Regions from separate parts of the Homo sapiens genome. Here region 1 is linked to region 2. The links are contacts of gene promoters, found by promoter capture Hi-C in human tissues and cell types (Jung and others, 2019). All regions are on one chromosome and are shown on one strand. Each heading gives the region's core, a stretch centred on a gene start or on the middle of the fragment in contact. The rest is flanking DNA. Distances are from core to core; before and after follow the strand shown. Region 1 overlaps AGBL4 (AGBL carboxypeptidase 4). Region 2 holds the start of AGBL4 (AGBL carboxypeptidase 4).

Region 1 (4,321 bases), core at 555-3,054, 1.2 Mb after region 2:
CAGTGAGCGGATGCAGCTCCAGGAGAGGAAACCCCAAGCATTTTCCAGTGTTTCCCCAACCACCTTCAGTGCCAAGGGCTCTGGGGAGCAAGGACATTATGCCAGACACTCCTGACTTCTTGATCCTACTGCACCCCTTCTACTTTGTGTATGAAAGTAATGCCTTAATCTCTCTGACTCATTTTTCTTCACTTATAAAATGGGGATAATTAAAAAGTACCCTCAGGGTTGTTCTGAGGATCAACTGGGATAATGATTCAGTGTTCTACCTAACACATTGCCTGCTAAAGTAGATCTGTAATGAAGGTGAATCTTTCTCACATCCCTCCACTTGTCCCCACTCTATATCCCTGTATTGCCAGGTCTGATTACTGTCAAAACATGGATTTCCTTGCAGAGATGAGGTAATCCTCACTCAGCAAAAAGAAACTGCTTTTCACAACATGTGTTTATTCATTCAGTGAGTTTTTATTGTGTACCGATTATGTATGAGAGAATAGATTTCAATGTAACTAAAAACCTCACCCAACTCATGTCAAAATCTTGCTCAATCCACAAATGCCCTTTCAAGTTAATTCAGCTATCCCATATTAAGTACTACCATGTGCCAAGCACTGAGTTAGTGGCTATGATTCAGAAACAAAGGATACATTGTCCTTGCTTCAAGAAGTTAAAAAATCATATGCTGCAAAAAACTAAATGTTACAGCAGAGGTGCATAAAAAGTATAAAGGGAGCCCAGAGACATCCTTCCCGACAAAGTAAGGCAAGGCTTCAGAAAGGAAGTAATAGTCGAACTTGGCTTCAGCAGAGAGGTAGGATTAACTTGCATCTGACTTACATCTCTGTAGCACTTGGGATTTTGCAAAATATTTTGGTAACAAGAGGCTCTCTCAGATATGGAACCTTGTTCTGGGCCCCAGTAGGAGGGAGGAGCGCCTGGATCATAGCTGGAAGGATGGAGGAGAGGGACTTAGTTCTTCCAGCCCAGAGGGCCAGAGAGCTGAGGTGACTTGCCCAAGGTCACAAAGAAAACAAGCTTATAGACTATACTTCTGCCCTCTACACTAATCTTCCCAGATGTTCATATGGTTCACTCCCTCATGTCATTAAGAATGACTCAAATGGCCTCTCCTCAGAGAGACTTTTACTGAGCCCCAATCCAAAAATTAATTCCTTTCACAGTTCATTTCCTTACCCGAAAATGCTCCCTTTTACTTCACAGGTCTCATTGCTACCTGACATTATATAACCATTTGGGTTTTCTCTATCTTCCCCACAAGATTGTGAGTTGATGGGGACAGGGACCTTGTTTGTCTTGTTCAATGGGAATGTCTAGAACAATGCTTGGTATGTAGCAGGCCCTCAGCAATATTTGTTAGATGAATGAACTTTTACGTTTAAAAAAAATGAAATAATGTTGTGATGAACAGCTTTATTCTTCCATTTTTATACAATTATCCAAATATTTTCTTATGATCTATTCCCAAAAGCAAAATTGCTAGGTGCCCAAAGTTATTTATTGATTAGCTCAGTGACTGGCATACAGCAGATATTTGATTAACATCTACCAAGTGACTGAAATTGAATGTTTTTCTTGAATGGCACCAAATTAACTGATTCCAGATTTGAATTCTGCCAGTATCTAATTGAGCATCTAAACCATTTGTTCATTCATTTATTAACTTATCAGACATTACCTACATTGTGGATACAAAATCGGGGGAATTGGTCCCCTGACCTCAAGAGGCTCTCAGTCTAATGAGGAAGACAGACAGGTTAGGCAATAGTTTGGCACTAAGCTAGAAACTCATTTTCTCTTACCAGTGATCCTGGCTACTTGGTTCTTAACATGTATAACCTCAGGCAATTTGTATGACCCCTCTGAACTTGTGTTTTCTCATCTGTAAAGTAGAGTTGCAATGCCTATTTCACAGGGCTGTGGAGAAGAATGGCATGTGAATGCACATAGAAACACTTGGGATACTGCCTGGCATATAGCAAGAGTTCTACAAATGTTAATTAACATTATTTCTAGCCTCATTTTATAGAAACGACTGAGGCGCAGCAAAAATTCAACTGTTTGTCTAAGGTAAGTAGTATAGATGGAATTTGAATCCAGATCTCCCAACTTCATTCCCAGGCACTCCCTGCATTGTGATTCTGCCTGCATCATTAAGACCTCTTTTCCTGTGGCTGCTACCTTCTCCCAGACTTTGGAACATGGGTACCAAGCCTTGAGTTGAGTCTCTAGGCCTCCTGGTGCTCATCCAACCCTTGCTCCCCTACTCTCTCTTTTTCCTTTGCACTATGCTGACAGCCCCCTAACTGCAACCCCACATGTTAATAGTTTTATGAAAAAAAATGTATTTTGATAATTAAGCTGGTGGAATTTAGAAATCAACAGAACAGTACATTTTCCCAGCAGAGCCAAGAAATTAATTAGGAGCAATTTGCTGTCAGAAACAATTTCCATAATTTTAAGTTTAAAAAAAAGCAGAAAATCATTTTTGTGGGTTTTTTTTTTCCTGCTTTCCATTCCAAAGTGGTTTAACTCCTGGAAAAACAAATTCTTCCAACTACCCTATTTTCTGTTCTTCAGTCTCTTCCCCTGAGAGATGTTTCAGCCTCTCTCTGACTGGTTATATTCAAGGGTGAGGAGGAATAATATGAGACAGAACCTTTTTGATCCCCTCCTTCACCCCATAGGGCAGAACTTATACTTTTCCAATGGCATGATTATAAAATGTGCACATTCCTATCTCAGTAATGGGGGGATATATGATGCCTTTGGAAAGGAGACTGAAAGGGGAGAAACAGAGGTCATGGTACACTGAATGAGGGTCCTAGTGGGCCACCAGGCAGACAAGACTGCTCTATAGAGAGGCATTAAAGCATTGTGGCCAACGGCATAGGCTGTAACTCTGGAGCCAGACTGACTAGGATCACATCTCAACACTGTCCTTTTACTATCTATGCGATCCTGGTATAGTTCTTTAATTTCTCTGTGACTCAGTTTCCTGATAAAGTAGCTCTGATGGTTTATGATGGTCCACCAAGCTCTTATGTCCACACTAAGACCACAATGCCTGGCATATGGCAAGTGCTCATGACTGTTTCTGATGATGAGTGGCAGGAACAAGCTCCCAAAAAGAGAAGTGTAAGCTGTCACTGGGTTCATCTTAGACCTTGGACACTCTAGTTCCAGACTCAGAATGGCCAAAACTAAAGATCTATTCTATCTCAACAACCCTTTATTTTGGAAGGCATCATAGCAAAGAGCAATGGTTGTGAGATATCTTACACACATACACACACACACGTACACAATGCTAAGAATAGTGAAAATACCAAGGTTTGCAAATGATCTACTTTTTTATATGAGGTAAAGCAGATTTAAAGTTACTTCTATGATAATGATAATGTCACTCTTCATTTTCTTACAATTCAAATATGAGAGGAAAAAAAGGGAGTTGAGTTATAACTAGAGCTAAGTAATGGATTTTAACTGGCAGAACTGGCAGCCTAGAATTATCCTTAACACAACCTGTTGTGAACAAGCATTACTGTTGCACAGTTAATAGTTTTGACTGAGTTGTTATCATGTATTATTTCCATGATATTTTTTAGTTTCATCTAAATCTGAATGTATCAGTCAGTACATAACCAAGAAAAAAAATCACTCCAAATATTTGAAACAAAGAGGATTCAATGCAGGGAACTGGCACCAGTTGAGAAGCCAAACAGGAAATGGTAAAGAAACTCAGAGATTAGCAACAATAGGAAGATACTCTCACCCTGGGCATAAGGGTCAAAGGGAGAACAGGTGGCACTGGATCCTAGGAGCCATGGTTACCTAGCAAAAGATAGAGCCTTGGCAACCTCCATGGCTCTATCCAGCAAGTGCTAGAGCAATGGAGGAGACTCAGCTGCTGCCAGAGACACCTCTATGGTGGTAGGAGGGGAGTAATCCGTCTTCTCTCTTCTACTGTCTGATGTTTTGGCATGAGGTGGGAGAGATTTGAACCCCATTTTCTTTTTTTCTTTTTTTTTTTTTTTGAGATGGAGTTGCCCAGGCTGGAGTACAGTGGCGCAATCTTGGCTCACTGCAACCTCCACCTGCTGGGTTCAAGCAATTCTTCTGCCTCAGCCTCCCAAGTAGCTGGGACTACAGGTGCATACCACCATGCCCGGCTAATTTGTGTGTGTGTGTGTGTGTGTGTGTGTGTGTGTGTGTGTGTGTGTGTGTATTTTTAGTAGAGACGGGGTCTCACATGCTGGGCAGGCTGGTCTCAAACTCCTGACCTCGTGATCTGCCCGCC
Region 2 (4,631 bases), core at 1,351-3,850:
GCTGAGCATGCCTGTGTCATTGCTCTTACCACATTGTTTGGAAATTAATTGTAAACTGAATTTGTGCATGTTAATCCTTTCTTTCCAATTAGTTTGTAAACTTCAAAGGCATGGTATTTTTGATGTGAAAATTACATGAGATAACACAGATGAATTTCCTAGCATAATTTCAGTCTTCCCTGAGTCTGCTACTTTCTGCCTGAAACTTTGTATAAGTCACTTAAACTCTGTGAGCCTCAATTTCATCTTCTGTACAAGAGGCTGATATTAATACAAATATCATAATGCTGCTCTGAGAATGAAATGAGTTTGTGCTCGTAAAAATATGATTATAAATTAAATATTTCTCTCATTCCATTCTGCATCTAACTTAGTGGCCAGGCACATGGAAGGTATCATTTTAATGAATGTTTATGGAGGGAGTGGGTGAATCCTACAGGGTATATTTTGCTTGAAAGAAGGCACCCTTGTTGTGGGTGGGTGTTTTCTGTGGAGACAGAAATCATAGGAGGTCTCTGGGGAAGACAGACCTCCCAGGGACATATGAATGGTAGCACGGGGAAACTAATTCCCAGGAGCCCATGTAGGGGACGTTTTCCCCCCACTTCCCATGCTGTGTTATTTTTCACACAACAAAAGGGAAGTCTCTGAAGACTCCAGCAGTAGTGAAGAAGTCTATACTCCCTCCTGCACTGCTTCCTGAGGAATAGCTGACACAGAGGAGAACCGAACCTGGTCCTGTCAGCAAGCTGGTTTTCCAGGCTTTTCGTCTCCTCTGCCCAGTAAGGCATTTGTCTATCAATTCTGACTAACAAAACTTTCTGCAGTGATGGAAATGTTCTATACATATGTTGTCCAATATGGTAGCCAGTAGCCACATGTAGCTATTGAGCACTTGAAAAGTGGCAATTCTGATTAAATAACTGAGTTCTAAATTTTACTTAAAATTTAAATTGACCAATGTGGTTCAATTTAATAATGTTATATTTGTCTCTTTATCCTCAGCATCTGCACAGAGCCTGGCTCATACTCATCAAATGCATTTTCATTCATCACCCTATTTGTGTCTTAGAGCTACTCTTTGTGGTAGGCAGGACCTTTGTCTCAGTTTGTTGGAAGAGGAAACTGAGGCTCAGTAAGTTTAAGTGATTTGCCCAAGATTATAAAGCTATAACATCAGTCTGAGTAGAACCCACATCTTTCTCTTTATTTTTCCATCTCCCTATACTTAATGTAGTTCTTTTGTTCTTCTTAGCCCTTATTGACTCCTCCGACACCGAAATTCCCAAAACCCTCACAGCCTTTACATAAGTGTCATTAGGACTGTGGAAAGCACATATATATTCATCTTGATAGTTGTGTGGACATGGCTTGTGAATTTTAAACTGTTCAAATGTGAGAGATAATTCTGATAGCTATTTTCATGTAACTTTCTGTACAAGATTCTTATCCCTGATTTTAATGCAGATGAATGGACAGTTCCATGCATGTGGCCAGCATCTTACTTAGAAGGCCTTCCGGTCCGTCTCTGCATTTCTGCCTCAAGGCTTTCTCTCAAACTCTAGAAGTCTGCTCAGCCCTGGCAAGCATAACCAGGAAATGTGAGAGAGTTCAAGCTGGAAGGTGGAGAGCAACCCTCAACCAATGGAGACAGAAATTAGGAGACAAATGCCCCAGACTCTGTGTTCTTCAGTGGGACAACGGCAGGCACACATTCTACCCTGTTTTTCAGAGTCTGAAGCAAGATTAAAAATAGTTGTCTACTAAAGCAATCAGCTCAATAACACATTTTTCTTAGCGTTTTTCCCCCTTCCCTCTTTCACTCTCTCCACCTCATTTCCTTTCAGATTACCACCATTTTCCATTCAGCAGACATTGACTGAGATCCTACTTTGTGTCATGCACCACGCTGCACTATGGAGTATACAAAGATAAGAGAACAACCGTAGGTATCAGAGAGCTCATGGTCGAGAAGGAAATAATGCATAAAGCATTTGGAATAGAGGGAATATACAGGGGACTGCGGGAGGGCAGAGCTGGTCAGGACGGGTAATGTTCCAGCTTGGTTTTAGACGATAACGGCGTGTCACTACTGAAAGGTGGGAAACAGCAGCCCATATTTACTGAAAAATACGTCAGCAAAAGGATAAGTCTTTTCTGGGGTTGAGGGTTGCTGTCGCAGAGGGGCAAGGAGCCAGAACCCTTTGGGCCTCTGTGTGTTTGGGTTGGGGTGGGCACACAGTTGGTTTTCAGTGCATTTCAGTTGAAGACGAGTAACCCAGGCAAACCAAGGGGAGAAGCTTTGGGAAATCAAGAAACCTGTCCCAAGTCCCCAAAGTTGAGCACCAACCACAGAAAAGCCAGTTTAGCTAGTCTGGGCGGTCAGTACGAGGACCCCGGTCGCCGTCAGGAAAGCGCCATCCCTACAGACCTGGCCCCTGTGCTCTAGGGGTGGCGGAGCCTGCTCAGTTGCCAGGATGCGGTGGATCGGTTGCGGAGGAGCAGCGCCCCGGGGCCCAAGTCCCAGCTCAGGCCCGGGCTCGCGCCGCGGGGGCGGGGCCTTGGACGCACGCTCCTCCCAGGCGTCCCTCCCGCCCTCAGCCGCGCGCCGGCCACCCGCGCGCCTGCCGCCCGTTGCCCAGGCAACCGTCGTGCCGCGTCTTCCTGAGGTAGCTCCTGTCAGCCCACTGATCCCACCACCCGCTCCCTACTGCCCCGCGGTCTTCGCGTGAGCTCGGAGACTGAGGGACAACAAAAATGGCGGAGGGGAGCCAGTCGGCGCCTGAGGCAGGTCTGTGGGGGCGGCCGATCTGGGGAAGGCTGAGGCGGCCAGGCTGTCCTGGGTCTCAGGCAACAGGGGACTCGGGCATGGTCCTACTCCTGAGGAGGCGGTCCTGTATATTTGCGCGGTGGGTTATGACTTCAGGGTCAGGGGTCAAGGGTGGCGTGCACCCCTCTGAATGGCGGGCAGGGACCTCGAAGTCCGGGTGGTGGAGGGGAGTGTGGGTTAGTGTGCACACTTCTGACAGAACATGGGCCCGAAAGGGGCTGGGACCTGAGGGAAGAGACAGGATCTTAATCCTGGGATCACCTGTGGTGAAGGCTAATCCTAGGGCTAGGCTGTGTCATGGAAAGGGTGTACACTGCCCTGTGGGAGCATGGGAGAGATCCCTAAAGGGGCATGATTTGGGCTCGGGGTGGGAGTAGGAGGCTCTGACTCTAAAGAGGGAGGTATACGTGGAAGGTGTGTTACTTTAATATCAGACAGTGCCATGGAAGGGGGAGTTAGAGTATTTGTGTTTGGGGATGTGCAGTGTCCTCAGGGTCACTCCTGGTCACAGAGAAATTTATGCAAATAATTCTTGTATGGGTCCTTAAAAAGACAAGAGGCCTTGAGGGGATACCCGGAGCCCCAGTCCTTTAGGAGCCTACCAAAGGAGGCTGGAGCGTGAGTGTGAGTGTGTGTGGGTTCAATGATCTTGAAGGTCATTCAGAATCAAAGGAGTGCATGTCCACACTTCTGTGGGTAGAAGATAGCCTTTAAGGGACAGGAAGACTGACAGGAAGGGAGACCCAGGATCCTATTCCTGAGGGGACCCCTTGTGCATATGGCTGGGATTTGTGAGATACTGACTTTAAGTTTCTCACAGGGTCATAGAAGAAAGCAAAGGTTTTTACAGTTTTGAGTATGTGGGAGGGAGTTTGCCTCTAAATGAGGCTGACCACTGAAGAACTGGATGTTACGGGATGGCATGGGTGTGTGGGTAGAAAAGAAGTGGCTTTGGGAATATGTGTGTGATGGGTGTTGGCAGTGGTATACATAACCTTGTATATATGTCCTGATCAGGTATTATCATTACAAGAGTGATCCACTTGAATTACTTTGGTCCTGGTGTGTGTGTGTGTGTGTGTGTGTGTGTGTGTGTGTGTGTGTGTGTGGTTATGGTACATACACACCACACCCCAGAAACTGGAACTGAAAACTATGACACCCTCAGAAATAAGTTCGAGGAACCATTATGTCTCAAGGCCTTCATTATTTCTCTTTCTTTCATGGCACCTCTGTTTTATTGAGTAGCTCCTCTACTCATTTTATAGTTTTAGCTCCCTCATAACTTGAACAGGCTTATTCCTTTATTCATTCATCCACTCAACAAATATCGAGTGCTAACTATATGCCTGGCAATAAGTTAGGCATTGGAAATTCCCTGCTTTGGATGAGCTTACCTTGTTCTTCTTTTCCTTTTTTTCTCATAGCATTTATTGCCTTTGAACATACTATTTAATTTACTTGCTTGTATTGCTTATTTCCTGTCTCCTTCCACTACAATGTAAGCTCTACAAGGGCATTGTTTTATCAATACCACATGTCTAGAACTTTTCTAAGTGTATAGTATGTTCTCAATAAAGATTTCTTAAATGAATAACTGAATTACTGATATTGTCTGGAAGTGATATTTTAGCTGACATATGATAGGGATTGGATAATTGAAAAAAAGGGCAAAGAGTGGTCGAGGCAGCAGGAAAACCATGTGCAAAGAACCCAAGCAGGTGGAAACATGTTATGCTGTGTTTGAGGAACTGAAAGGAGACAAGTGTGGGTACATGTGGGGCAATGGGAAGAGAGAAGA

What was found. The method cuts DNA at HindIII sites, captures the fragments that hold promoters and counts their contacts. A contact is called where the count stands out against the background at its distance.
Region 1: a fragment that was not itself captured here is called in contact with the fragment with the promoter of AGBL4 in region 2 in 1 of the 25 tissues and cell types used here (mesenchymal stem cells).

What each region holds. Positions count from the first base shown.
Region 1 is chr1:48,827,923-48,832,243 of GRCh38, reverse strand. All of the region lies in intron 6 of AGBL4 (AGBL carboxypeptidase 4), which reads left to right. Among named protein-coding and RNA genes, the nearest start is that of BEND5, 53 kb to the right of the region's middle. The HindIII fragment of the contact is 3,158 bases long and covers 226-3,383 here.
Region 2 is chr1:50,021,923-50,026,553 of GRCh38, reverse strand. AGBL4 (AGBL carboxypeptidase 4) reads left to right here and starts at 2,600. Exons shown (of 14, transcript NM_032785.4): 1 at 2,600-2,791. The coding sequence starts at 2,758. LOC105378708 (a long non-coding RNA gene) reads right to left here and starts at 2,533. Exons shown (of 3, transcript XR_947311.3): 1 at 2,432-2,533. The HindIII fragment of the contact is 7,609 bases long and covers 1-4,631 here.